Regions from separate parts of the Homo sapiens genome. Here region 1 is linked to region 2. The links are contacts of gene promoters, found by promoter capture Hi-C in blood cells and fetal thymus (Javierre and others, 2016). All regions are on one chromosome and are shown on one strand. The core of a region is centred on a gene start or on the middle of the fragment in contact, and the rest is flanking DNA. Distances in the headings are between cores, read along the strand shown. Region 1 has its middle 12 kb from the start of ART3. Region 2 holds the start of SDAD1-AS1 (SDAD1 antisense RNA 1).

The links. The method cuts DNA at HindIII sites, captures the fragments that hold promoters and counts their contacts. A CHiCAGO score of 5 or more calls a contact.
Region 1: a fragment that was not itself captured here is called in contact with the fragment with the promoter of SDAD1-AS1 in region 2 in 8 of 17 cell types (naive B cells, total B cells, M0 macrophages and 5 more); the score reaches 10.3 in naive B cells.

The regions. Positions count from the first base shown.
Region 1 is chr4:76,061,365-76,064,603 of GRCh38, forward strand. It overlaps a transcript of ART3 not described here. Among named protein-coding and RNA genes, the nearest start is that of ART3, 12 kb to the right of the region's middle. The HindIII fragment of the contact is 935 bases long and covers 881-1,815 here.
Region 2 is chr4:75,979,206-75,982,254 of GRCh38, forward strand. It overlaps SDAD1-AS1 (SDAD1 antisense RNA 1), which reads left to right and starts at 1,585. Exons shown (of 3, transcript NR_125906.1): 1 at 1,585-1,760. It overlaps SDAD1 (SDA1 domain containing 1), which reads right to left. Exons shown (of 22, transcript NM_018115.4): 2 at 2,728-2,832; 3 at 2,167-2,265. The HindIII fragment of the contact is 11,776 bases long and covers 1-3,049 here.

The DNA of each region.
Region 1 (3,239 bases), core at 98-2,597, 82 kb after region 2:
ATTGATACCAAATCATTTTGATTTGGGGTTTATTACCACTGATTTAGGTCAAGCTCCCACCACTTCTCACTTGGATTTCTCAGGTAATCTCCCAACACATCTTCCTGCCTCTTGTTAAAATGTCTTGGTAATTTATTCTTCTGTTCTATGAAAGTGACCTTTTCAATCAGATTATGTTTCTCCTCTACTTCATGGTTTCCCATTGCCATTTCAGTCAAGTTCCAATTTCTAAGCATTACACACAAGGCGCTCTTTATGATCTGATTCCTCTTTCCTCCCCAACTTTTTAACTCTTTGTGTTCCATAAAACATATCATGCTGTCCAGCTGTATTAAATGGCTTGCATTTTCTTGAACATGTGCTATGTATGCCATCAGTGCCTTGTACATACTTTTTTATCTGACTGGAAGGCCCTCCTTTCTTTGTTTCCCTAACTCCTACTTCTTTAGTCTTCAACTGAATTGTCACTTTAGTTAGGGGCTCAGTAAATGTTGGTTTAAAGAGTAAATGAGAAGAATGCCAAAGAATAAGAATTGTGAACCACTGAAGTGGATTTTTACACGAATTTCTAGAGTCCCTTTCCCTAAAGGACAATTTTAGATGGCAATGTTTCTGGAATAGTTTGAGGGTAGCCTTTTGTTAGTTTTATGTAAATGCTAAGAAGAGAGCATTTGAGTTTGGTATTTGGAGTAGGAATAGACAGGAACTCACTAAAGAGTTACTTCAGAAGAGAAAGTCATTATGGATGATGGTCTCGTATAAGAAAGCTACCAGACCTACTCATGTAATCATCCACTGTTCTTATCTGCAAGAGGGATTACCCCTTTTAGTTTTGCTTCCTATTTTTTAAAAGCTAAGATATCCTGTTCCAGAGAGAGTAAGCTTACATTAAAAAGCATTAAGTATCTTTAGTTTTCTTTTAAATTTGACTTATGTTCTAATGATTGTTACTTCATGGGGGTTTCCAACCTTGGGAAAAAAGTTAATAACTATTTTTTTAGGTTTATTATGAGAACTATACAGTTTAGTCAATATAAAATATACAGTGCCTTGTGTGTAATTAAGTAGTTAATAAAGGCTAGCTATTAGTTGTTATAAATTATCGTTATTGCTAAGCATTTAAAAATGATCCACCATTTTGCAGAGATTTAAACATCTCAGAGCATCTCATCCTTATGTGAAAGAAAAATAAATCTTTTTTTTTTTTTTTTTTTGAGACAGAGTCTCGCTCTGTTGCCCAGACTGGAGTGCAGTGGTGGGATCTCGGCTCACGGCAAGCTCCGCCTCTCGGGTTCACGCCATTCTTCTGCCTCAGCCTCCCGAGTAGCTGGGACTACAGGTGCCTGCCACCATGCCTGGCTAATTTTTTGTATTTTTAGTAGAGATGGGGTTTCATTGTGTTAGCCAGGATGGTCTTGATCTCCTGACCTCGTGATCCGCCCACCTCAGCCTCCCAAAGTGCTGGGATTACAAGTGTGAGCCACCGAGCCCGGCCCCAAGTCACATTTCAAATGCTCAGTAGCTACATGTGGTGGCTAGTGGCCATTGAACAATACACTTCTAGCTATTCTCTCTGTAAGGAATGCTTTCCTACAGCTAATCACTTGTTTAAGTCCCTTACCTCCTTCAGGTTTTTGCTAAATTTCACTCTCTCAGTGAGGCCTACCTTGACCACTCTATTTAATACTATAGTGTGCCCCAACTCCCCACACTTCACACTTCTTCATTCTTTATCTCTTTCACTGCGTAATTACTAATTTATTATTTTCATTGTTTATTGCCTGCCTTCTTTTTCTCTACTACTTCATGGACGGAAGCTTCCTGGAGGCAGGGATTTTTATTTTGTTCACTGACAACATCCCAACACCTAGAATAGTGCTTGGCCTATAGTAGGTGCTCAGTAAACATTTGTAGATTAAATGTAATGAAGGAATGAGTCATTGCAAAAACTTGTTACAATTATAAATAAGCATATACTAGATTCAAGACATAATTCAGGAAGAGTTAAAAGCATTGCTGACCAAATCTCTCTTAACTAGGTCTTGAATATATTCTCTGTACCTTATACCATTTTAAGCTGGGAGTAATGGGGAGAGAAATGAGGAGTTTAAAATGAGATTAAAAGAAGCTTATAATCTGTAGTTAGGAAGACAAGATTCACAAAAAGAAACTAGGAAAAAATCCTGAATTTTGTTGAAAAAATTAGAAAATGGACTTACAATAAGGTCTCTCCGGTTGTGCCATATATATTCCTTTGATGAGAATTTCCCAATAGGTATTTAAGTAGTCATGTATTTATATATCATTATTTGACAGAGACTCGGAGAACATAAAAACAAGAAAGCTAAAAGTAATATAAAGCCTGCACTTGAAAATTAGTTTAAAACAATGATAGTGAAAAATAGAATAATTTTGGCACTAAACATTGAATTTATACAAATCTTTTAGAGTTTCATGTATTATACAAAGTTCTGAGGAAAAATTATTTTGAACCTAGAATTATATACTAGCCAACTGTTCATCAGATTCACATTTCAAAAATGAAAGCACTGAAAATGTTTATCTTCCATGCATCCTTTTTAAGGAAATAATTTCAGAATATATTCCTACAAAACAAAGATAAATATGAAGCAAAAAGCTGTAGATGCAGTAGCATGAGACAAAAAATAAATTAAAAAAATAAAACCACTGTAGAGTACAAGAAATGGAAAAAGTACCCAGGGATTCAATTGAAAGATTTTCTAGTCTCCTAGTTGTTGGCCTGGAGAGCAGTTTGTCCAGGTTAGAACTGGTCTTCAAGAATAAGAACAAAATGGATTCCAAGCAATAGAATTGGAAATAGAAGCACATTAGGTACACGATGGAGACAAATACTACTTTTCCCAACAACCACCATGATCACCACTACCATCACCACCAAAAAAGGCACTCAGAAACTAAAGGAAAAATAAAAAATTTTAGTGATCTAAATACAAAAGAGACAAAAGTGAGGCATGATTTTAAGGGATTAGTGGAGTATGGGAAAGGAATATTCATTTGATCTTGACATAAAAATGTTTTGTTTTGAGTGTGAATAGTGATCATGACATTGAAACAGCAGAGATGGAAATAAAATCCTAACTTGTGTCTTGTCTTTATACTAAAGAATATATAGCTGGTTGCAATAAACTTGCAGTAAACTATACTTTTGATTTTTAATTTTAGAATAGACCTTTACTTAAAGCATGGCTACAGAACAA
Region 2 (3,049 bases), core at 335-2,834:
ATTTTATTTCTTCCAAAAAAAATACAATGTTTCTATCTGTGTAAGCAGGACAGAGTGAACAAAATCTTGGGAATGATTCAAAAAGTCTTGGAAAAATAGCAAATACACCAGGTAGAAAGATAGCCCAGTGGCTGATAAGAATTGTTGGTTATCCCAATAACCAATTAAAAAGAGCTTCTTCCAGTGTGTTCAATGCTTCCTCTAAAGAGCAATGCTAACTATACAGACGCAATCCTTTATCTCCTAGTAAAGGAAATCTCTATTATTATTATTATTTTTTTTTTTTGAGACAGAGGCTGGAGTGCAATGGCGCGATCTCGGCTCACTGCAACCTCCGCCTCCCAGGTTCAAGCAATTCTCCTGACTGAGCCTCCCAAGTAGCTGGGATTACAGGCACGCACCACCATGCCCGGCTTATTTTGTATTTTTAGTAGAGACAGGGTTTCTCCATGTAGGTCAGGCTGGTCTCGAACTCCCGACCTCAGGTGATCCTCCTGCCTCGGCCTCCCAAAGTGCTGGGATTACAGGCGTGAGCCACCGCGCCTGGCGGAAATCTTTATTATTTTTTAAAAACCTACTAATCATCATAAAGCACTATAAAGAAATATACATACACATTTTTTTCCATTTAAAAAAAAATTTAGAGGTGGGATCTTGCTATGTTGCCTAGGCTGCAGTGTAGTGGCTATTCACAGGCATGCTCATACCACACCTCAGCCTCAAACTCCTGACCTCAAGCAATCCTCCTGCCTCAGCCTCCCAAGAAGCCGGGACTACAGGTGCACCTGGCATATATATTAATTTAATAATGCCCACAGACCAGTTTGGTGGGGTACTGCCAGGAAAATAAAACTTAAAGAAATCCTAATTACTTGGAAAGCCATTAAGTCTCTATACTCAAAATATCAAATCTCTATGACCTACAAGGACTTCAAGAGTAACATGACATAGGTAAAAGCCTTTAGACTAGGGGTTCAAGTTTGGAGTCCCTTGGGCTATACTGCCAGGTCCCATGTACCAGCTGAGTATCAATCAGTTGACAACCCAGGGCCTGAAACCTTGGCTTGTCTGAGACAGTATTCTTTTTCTTTTTGGCCTAATCAAATTACTAAAATCCTAAAGTAGTATAAAAATGATAGAAATACAAAAAACCTGAGAAAGTCTAAAAGAAAACAAATATTCATCTAAAGACTTGGCATTTCTACAAGTTGTGCTATAGGATATTAGTACGTTTTGTGATCATATTTGCGTACTTATCTGCTGTAAAGAGGTTTGAAAAGCAGATGTATTAAATTTGGAAATGTCTTAGTCCCTAGAAGCAGAGACTGATTTATTACAAGTGATTTGTTGGGGGTATGATCTCAGAAAGGAAGTGAAGGAAGGAGGATAGTGCAGAGACACGCAAAGCAAAGCAAGGATGTGCCCTTGACTGGAGACTAGCTTTAGTCCCAACACAGGAAAACACTGGAGCACATCCTGCATTGGAGTCAGAGCCACCCTGAGGTAATGGGCTGGGCTTTTGTACCACATGATAATGGGCTGTGGGCTACTAGGGTAGGAGGACACCTCCCAGGCACTAGGACTCCGATTTAGCTGAGGACAATGTTGCAGAGAAAGGGCAGCTGAGGGCCACCAGCAGCTGACATTCACAACAAGTGGGGCAAACAGGTACACCGGCCTCGTGAAGGGAATGTCAGCCAGGACTCAACCCCAACCACTAAAAGGACAATGATGAAATGCTCAAACTGACTGTCTAATGGGTAAGTTTACTAATTTAAGGCATTATAAAAATGACAAGTTGTGATTAGGATTCTACATGCATATGAGATTTGAATGACTAGAAGAAATCATCTCAAAAGGTTAAAGAGCATCCTGTAGGGTTAGTGTGCTGGAAGAATAGAAAGATCACAGTGTAGCTGAAAACAATATGATATCAGAAACACAGGCTGGAAGCAGATCATGCAGGCACTTTTGAGCCAGGTTATTAAGTTTCCGTTTTACTCTAAGTATAAATGAGAAGCCATAGAAGGATTTTTAGGAAAGGATAATACATTATAATTTACGTTTTCTGAAGATAATTAGCTTAGAGGCTGTTCTCATTTAAATATATATGAACGCAGCACACATGAACACAGCACAATTTATTCATCCAACTACTGGTCCTACCATTCGCAGATCTGGATCCAATACGGTATGATTGCAGGAGAGAAGATCTTTCACCTCTTGAGGAAAATTACTTAGGTACTCTGGGTAGCAGTGACTAATCTGTAACAAAGCAAAGGCTCTTCTGAAGTTGCTCTCTTTCTCTCCTATAATTCAGATGCATACATTTAGGATGTTCTGCAAAACGAGAGTAAAAGGCTATGTTTCATAGAAGTAGATGGTTCCAAACAACCTTCTTTTCCTTCTACATGTTAATTTCTCCAACATTTATCATGGTTTCTCTAGTCTTAGTAATATTTATGGCATGATTTAGTACCTGCTTTTATGATGAATTTGAAGAAAAAAAATAGTCTTAAAGTTTTGTCCTGGTTAGTTATGCAAAAAGATCTAGTGACATTCTCTAACTCATGATAGGGAGAAAATAAAATTTGCAAAAAGGGAAAGTTAGAAAAATATTTTAATTAAGTTCCCATTCCAGAGTGGAATAAGGTTGAGTATTAGTGAAAAAACATTCAGCAAACTGTGTGTTAATACTGGTCTTTATTTAAGCAATTATATTCTTACCTGTGCCATAAACATCACCAGCTCTGCTAGTTCTTTGCTGGGTTTATTTGGTTGCAATTTGAAAATCTCCACATTGGATTTGTAGTGATTATACTGCTGTAGAAACTGCAGAAAAATAAAATTTAAGTTTGTCACATTGTATTACATGACTTTCTCAGTACAGACATTCAGTAGAGAAATTCTTAGTAGAAACTGTTGACGATCACATGGAGAAAAAGATAATGCAAAAGTATATAAAAACACTCCTTTTGCCTTATCTGCATTCTTCAAAGTGCGCTTTTTAAAGACCTGAGCACATCACAGATAATCTAAAGAACTTTTC